Linked DNA regions of Homo sapiens: region 1 is linked to region 2. The links are contacts of gene promoters, found by promoter capture Hi-C in blood cells and fetal thymus (Javierre and others, 2016). All regions are on one chromosome and are shown on one strand. Each heading gives the region's core, a stretch centred on a gene start or on the middle of the fragment in contact. The rest is flanking DNA. Distances are from core to core; before and after follow the strand shown.

What was found. Contacts are between HindIII fragments. The CHiCAGO score rates a contact against its expected background, and 5 or more counts as called.
Region 1: a fragment that was not itself captured here is called in contact with the fragment with the promoter of DNPH1 in region 2 in 2 of 17 cell types (total B cells and endothelial precursors); the score reaches 5.0 in total B cells.

The regions. Positions count from the first base shown.
Region 1 is chr6:43,446,893-43,450,537 of GRCh38, reverse strand. ABCC10 (ATP binding cassette subfamily C member 10) reads right to left here. Exons shown (of 22, transcript NM_001198934.2): 17 at 3,130-3,290; 18 at 2,601-2,854; 19 at 1,512-1,657; 20 at 1,334-1,431; 21 at 1,004-1,116; 22 at 111-609. The coding sequence ends at 447. DLK2 (delta like non-canonical Notch ligand 2) reads left to right here. Exons shown (of 6, transcript NM_023932.4): 6 at 1-186. Among named protein-coding and RNA genes, the nearest start is that of DLK2, 6.8 kb to the left of the region's middle. The HindIII fragment of the contact is 9,873 bases long and covers 1-3,645 here.
Region 2 is chr6:43,227,686-43,231,165 of GRCh38, reverse strand. DNPH1 (2'-deoxynucleoside 5'-phosphate N-hydrolase 1) reads left to right here and starts at 1,685. Exons shown (of 4, transcript NM_006443.3): 1 at 1,685-1,905. The coding sequence starts at 1,710. RefSeq lists silencers at 1,387-1,826, 1,887-2,076 and an enhancer at 1,404-1,903. The HindIII fragment of the contact is 28,530 bases long and covers 1-3,480 here.

The sequences.
Region 1 (3,645 bases), core at 67-2,566, 220 kb before region 2:
GGAGGTGGGGGCTTTCTGGCCCCCTTCCTCACCTCTTCCACCCCTCAGACTGGAGTGGTCCGTTCTCACCACCCTTCAGCTTGGGTACACACACAGAGGAGACCTCAGCCTCACACCAGAAATATTATTTTTTTAATACACAGAATGTAAGATGGAATTTTATCAAATAAAACTATGAAAATGCAAGTGGGCTCCTATGCCAGAAAAACCCACCTGGCGTTCCAGATGCAAGAGGGCCAGAGCAGAGGCCTGGTTCTGGGGAAGCCTCAGGATGCTGCCCACCAAGGAGTGATTTCCAAAGAGTAATCCAGGGTGCCCTTTTCCCTTCTGGGGAAGTGTGGAGAGGTAGAGCCCCAGAGGAGAATGTAAACAAGCAGCCAGCACCTCTGTATAGGCCCGGCCTGGATCAGAGAGAGGGGAGAACTCTGCAGGGTGTGGGATTGGGCTCAGGGACCTCCGAGTGAGGCAGGGACTCCCTGCTGGCTGCTCTGCAGCAGCTGCTGGAACAGGGAGTGGGGCTGGTTGCGCAGGGTGGCCGGGGAGTCCAGCTCTACCACTCTCCCCGCTTGTAGCACCAGCACCCGGTCTGAGTTCAGGATCGTGTTGAGCCTGTGAGGGGGAAGATGGTCAGTGTAGGGGATGAGGGACAATGCCCTAAGTAAGAACACTGACCTGCTTTCCCTCCTCTCCCCTCGGGACACCACAGGTCTGTCCCCACAGGCTTTAGCCCCTGGCTTGGTGCTGGGGAAGGGACTGCAGAGTCCCTCAGATAATGTGCTATAAAGGGCCCTAGGCAGTGCTATAAAGGGCCCTCAGATAATGTGCTATAAAGGGCCCTAGGCAGTGCTATAAAGGACCCTTCTCGTCCCTGGAGAAGGAGGAGCTGAGATCTGGGGGGGCAGGATCTCTAAGGCCCTGACCACTGGGGTCCCTGAAAGCAACGGAGGCTCTCGGTGCATGCTACCACAGTCCCTGATTAGGCTGTTACCAGGCGTTTACATACCTATGGGCAATGGTCAGCACTGTCTTGTTGGCAAAGCGTTTGCAGATGGTCTGCTGGAGCAGCTGGTCTGTCTTCTGGTCCACACTTGCTGTGGCCTCATCGATACACAGGATCTGGAATATGGGAATGGGGTAGGGGATAAGAAGGAAGGAGAGGCTGCAGGGTGGGTTGGGCCTGGCCCAAGCAACAGCCCCTACCACAGCTCCCCACTTCCAGCTCTAAAAGGAAAATGAACTTGGTCCCCTAAAACCTCTCCCCACTCTACCTCCCCACCTCCCGGCCCCCAGCCTTCTTCCTGGCCCTCTCTAATGTCTCTTTCTCTCACCTTACCTTGGCATCTGTGAGGAGAGCCCTGGCCAAACACAACAGCTGCCTCTGCCCAAGAGATAAGCTCCGGCCCCCCTCACCCAGCTCACCATCCAGACCACCTGCAAGGAAAGCATCTTCGTTGCAGGGCCCAGGCCATCCCTGCTCCCTTCTTGCTCTAAGGTCAGGGTCCAGCACTCACCCATGGATGTAATCACCTCACTCAGGTGGCACTGCTTCAGGGCCTGCCACAAGGCCCTGTCCTTATGTAGGCCCTGGGGGTCCAGGTTTTCCCGAACAGTCCCACTGAACAAAAAGGGCTCCTGGGGGATGATAGCCAACTGGGATCTGGGGGACAATGACATGGAGTCTAGTGGTTGGAGATGTAGCCACTTCTGCTCCCAGCTCAGTTTCTGACTACAGGGCTAGCACCTCCATGAAAGCCTGGGTATGAGACCTGAACATAACCCCACTCTGCTCCCCACCCCATCCCCACCAAATGATCTGTTAGTAGCTGGGTACCTAGAACTGTGCCAGTGCTATGAGCAATACCAAAGAAACCAAAGGCTGGACTCTGTCCTCAAGGTGCCTACATTTCACGGAGGTGCACACACACAAACCAGACAAAACAAATGGGCTAAACTGTGTGGCACTGACTCCAGGGGTGGCAGTGGCTACGCAGGGAATGACCAGAGCGACTGAAAGGGCAGGTGACACTTCAAGGTTGGAGTGGGCCTAGAATTGGGTCCTGAAGACATGATGGAGCTATAAGGTAGGGCCACCACAGCTTAGAAGAGAAGGCAGAAGAGGCAGGCCTAGGGCTTTAGGATACAGCTTCCCTACCTTTTCCATGTCACCGTACTCAGAGAAAATGATACTAGGTTGACCTGGAGGTAAGGAAGGGTTGTATACCCTCCAGTGAGGCCACCTGAAGCCAAGGGCAACCGGTTCAGGTCTCAAGCTGTCTGAAGCACTGCCTGCTGAGCCTAGGACTCAGGGGATCAGTATCTTGGGGCACAAGAGTGGAGGGTGTATGGTAGGAAGTACAAGAAAGATGAAGCTGGAAAGGTGGCCTGGGTCAGGGCGAGGAAGACCTTGAGATCACCAGCCATGAATCTGGACCTGGGCACTAGGAGTTCGCTGTCCTTGCCTGCTCATCCTGTCCTCCATTTCAGCCCCCTGATCAGCCCTGGCTGCTGTGAGTTTATATAAAGCCTTCCTGGCTATGCCCTCCTCTAAGTGCCAGTAGTTCTGGTTCCCCCTTCCCCTCCCAAGTCCATCTCCCCCAGACCTGAGCTGGGCCAGCTCCAGCTGGCTGGTGTCCACGCCGTCCAGCAGCACTCGCCCTGAACTGGGCTCTAGCAGCCGGAAGAGCACCAACAACAGGGAAGACTTGCCGGAGCCTGTGCGGCCCACGATGCCCAACTTCTCTCCAGGCTGCACGCAGAAGGTCACTCCATCCAGGGCATTCGGCAGCCCTGGCCGGTACGCCAACACCACGTCCTGGAACTCCACGCCCCCCTGGGTCAGCCAGCCGGTGCCCAGCTGGTGGGGTCCATGGGTGGGAGACAGACGGGGAAAGGGAGATAGGGGAGATGAGGAGCGATGGTGAGGAGGGGAGAATAATGAGAAATGGACAGTGTGAGAGGAATGAGAGAATGAGAGATGGGGAAGAAGGGACATGGTGAAGAATTGTGGTCATCATGAAGAGAGGTTATGGGAGCTGAGAAAGATGGGTGGGCAAAAAGAAAGGAATTGTGAGGGAGACTGGGGCCTTCAGGGTTCCAGAGCTTTGGCCTGGGGTGGGGGTACAGGCCCACCTGCAGTGGCTGGCCCTGGGGTTCCTGGGGCAGGTCACAGGTGTACTCTTCCAGCCGCTCGACGCTCACCAGCATGGCCTCTGTCTGTGTGAAGCTGCTCACCAGGCCCGAGAGCAGGCCCGTCAGGGACAGGGCATAAGACAGCGACAAGCCCACCAGCCCTGGGGGAGAGAAGTACCAGCTGCTGGGAGAGCTTGGACACCGGGACGTTTGTGGGAGACTCCCCAGGCTGTGGACTGCTGGCATTTAAAGGAAGCAACAGAGGCTGGGCGCGGTGGCTCACGCCTGTAATTCCAGCACTTTGGGAGGCCAAGGCAGGTGGATCACGAGGTCAGGAGTTTGAGACCAGCCTGGCCAACATGGTGAAACCCTGTCTCTACTAAAAATACAAAAATTAGCTGGGCGTGGTGGCAGGCGCCTGTAATCCCAGCTACTTGGGAGGCTGAGACAGGAGAATTGCTTGAACCCAGGAGGCAGAGGTTGCAGTGAGCCGAGATCGTGCCACTGCACTCCAGC
Region 2 (3,480 bases), core at 436-2,935:
ATCCCAGCGCTTTGGGAGGCTGAGGTAGGGGGATTGCTTGGGTCTAGGAGTTTTGAGACCAGCCGTGGAAACATAGTGAGACCTCGTCTCTACAATTTTTTTTTTTTTGAGATGGAGTTTCACTCTGTTGCCTAGGCTGGAGTGCAGTGGCGTGATCTTGGCTCACTGCAACCTCTGCCTCCCGGGTTCAAGCGATTCTCCAGCCTCAGCCTCTGGAGTAGCTGGGACTACAGGAGTGTGCCACCACGCCTGGCTAACTTTTTGTATTTTTAGTAGAGACGGGGTTTCACCGCGTTAGCCAGGATGGTCTCGATCTCCTGACCTCGTGATCTGCCCACCTCGGCCTCCCAAAGTGCTGGGATTACAGACATGAGCCACCGAGCCCAGCCAATTTTTTTTTTATTAGCTCAGCATGGTGGCACGTGCCTGTAGTCCTAGCTACTCAGGAAGCTGAGGTGGGAGGATTCCTTGAACCCTCAAACTTGAGGCACGAGTTTGAGGCTGCAGTGAGCAATGATCGTGCCTCTGCACTCCAGTGTGGGCGACAGGGACCTTGTCACCAAAAATAATAAATAAATAAATAAATAAAGTTTTAAAAAACTTCATCTTACATTTCAAAAGGCATCAAGCCAACAGGGTCCAGATGTTCGCCTAACCAATGGAGACAACACCCAACCAGATAAGGGCATCACCCTTTACTATAAGTCCTCATCAGAGGACTCAAGGACCATAAAATGATCAGGACTTCAGCAGCTAGACACGGCCACCTTAACAGACCGAGTCTTGCTATCACTCGTGCCCAGCACCTGGTGTCTGCCTCTGAAGGCTCTGCCCAAATCAAGGACTCTTCCTTGCAAGCTCTTGATGACTATCCCCATCAGGCCGGGACTCTGTCCACAGCACTCTCCTTGGACTGGTTCGTTAACCCCTTTTCTCTTGATGTTAAATGTTCTTGTGTTTGATGTGAAATTTTAACCTGTAACATTTATATCCTTACATATAATACTATGGATGGTTTGCAATACAGTCTGACTTGTGGAGTGGCTCCAGCTTGCATGCCCGCGGCTCTGACTACCGAGTGAACAGGTGGTCCTAAGGAGAACTGACTTCTTGGGAACTCCGTGTGACGCCTAGCTTTTGTGATTGAAATAGCATCAGTAAAAACCTGATCTTGTGGACAGACACAAAGGTGGGTGGACCTGGTTCTGTCTGACCTTGAGCAGCTCACGACATGTGGACACCTGTTAGGAGGCTGTGGAGAGCCCAGAGGAGGCTTAGACCAGGGTGGTGGCCCTGTAGGCGGTCGTGAGATTTCAGATTTGGAAGGACGAATCCACACGAGTTGTCAATGGATGGGACGCAGAGTTTGAGAGAAAGGGAACGATCCAGATGACTCCGAGGGTCTTGGGCCTGAGCAGCTGGGAGGATGCAGCTGGGGAAGACGGCGGGGAGGAGGGGAGCAGAAGCGGGTGAGGTGGGGAAGCCCTCGAGTTCTGCCTGGACAAGGTCAAGTTAAGGTGCGTGTTAGGCATCCGAACGTCAAGTCCAGGAAGGGTGTGTTCCCGAAAGGGTCCCGGCTGGATCCTCCCAGTTCGTCGTCCCCATTCCACAGGTGTGGACTCAGCAGCCGGGCTCTGCGCTGGGCCGGGCGGGGTCACGTGGCCGCGGGCTGGCGCCCCCTGGCGCCGGAGAGCGCGGGCGGCTGGGGAATGGCTGCTGCCATGGTGCCGGGGCGCAGCGAGAGCTGGGAGCGCGGGGAGCCTGGCCGCCCGGCCCTGTACTTCTGCGGGAGCATTCGCGGCGGACGCGAGGACAGGACGCTGTACGAGCGGATCGTGTCTCGGCTGCGGCGATTCGGGACAGTGCTCACCGAGCACGTGGCGGCCGCCGAGCTGGGCGCGCGCGGTGAGGCCCTGGGGCCGCGGGACGCGGGGACGCGGGCGCGGACCTGGCTGGGGTGGCAGGGACCCGGCCTGTCCGCCCCCCCGACCCCCGGCAGCTGCGCTCCCGGCGCCCGGAGCCCGCCCTCCTACCCCGGTGCTCCATCCAGCGCCCCAGCCCGAGAAGGAAACGGGCCGGGGCTCGGGCTGCGTGGGTCCCAGCAAGCCTGCGGGTGTAAGGCAGACTCAGCATTATCTTGACCTTTGGTTCCTTCTTGGAGAACTCTGTCTTCAGCTGCTTTCAGAGCGTTTGTAGGGTGCAACAGAAAGAAGGTAGATTGGGCTGCTTTGCTTGGGCTCAGTTCCCACCTCACCCGCTGGAATCTTTTCCACCACCCAACACGAAAGGTATCCTCCTGCCTCCCCACCAACTTTTTTTGTTTTGTTTTGTTTTGTTTTTGAAACGGAATCTCACTCTGTCGCCCAGGCTGGAGTGCAGTTGCGTGATCTCGGCTCACTGCAACCTCGACCTCCCGGGTTCAAGTGATTCTCTTGCCTCAGCCTCCCGAGTAGCTGGGACTACAGGCACGCGTCACCACACCCGGCTACTTTTTGTATTTTTAGTAGAGACGGTGTTTCACCATATTGGTCAGGCTGGTTTCGAACTCCTGACCTCAGGTGATCTGCCCGCCTCGGCCTCCCAAAGTGCTGGGATTACAGACAGGAGCCACCGCCCAGGGCCTGCCTCCCCTTTTTCTGTGAAGACATCAGCACTCTTTTAGACCTGGCTGACCCCAGTTCTCACTATTACCCTCTCTCACATTTTTGTTTTGTTGATACAAGGGCCTCTCTGTCGCCCAGGCTGGAGTGCAGTGGTGCGATCATAGCTCACTGCAGCCTCGGCTTCCTAAACTCATGATCCTCCAGCCTCAGCCTCCTATTAGCAAGGACTGCAGGGGCACGACACCATGCCTGGCTCAAAATTTTTCTGTAGAGATTGGGAGTCTCACTATGTTGCCCAGTCTGGTCCCGACCTCCTAGCCTCAAGTGATCCTCCCGCCTCAGGCCTCCCGAAGTGCTGGGACTATAGATGTGAGCCCCCATGCTGGCCTCATATTCTCTTTCAGGCCATTATTGTGTTCTGCTCCTGGCTGCTGGGTTTTTCTTTCTCTTTCTATTTATTTAGTTATTTATTTGGAAACAGTCTTGTTCTATTACCCATGCTGGAGTGCAGTGGCAAAATCTCAGCTCACTGCTAACCTCTGCCTCCCGGGCTTGAGCAATCCTCCCACCTCAGCCTCCCAAGTAGCTGGGACTACAGGTGTGTGCCGCCATACCTGGTTAAGTTTTGTATTTTTTATAGGGACGGGATTTTGCCATGTTGGCCAGGCTGGTCTTGAACTCCTGAGCCCAAGTGATCTGCCTGCCTCAGCCTCCCAAAGTGTTGGGATTACAGACATGAGCCGCTGAGTCTGGCTGGATTTCTCTAAAGCATATTTGATGTGCTGGTCTGGAATCTTGCAGATCCTTCCAGTTTGAAAATTGTATCTTGAATGCTTGTGCTTCTGCTCAGAAAACCTTAAGTGGTTTCCACTTATCC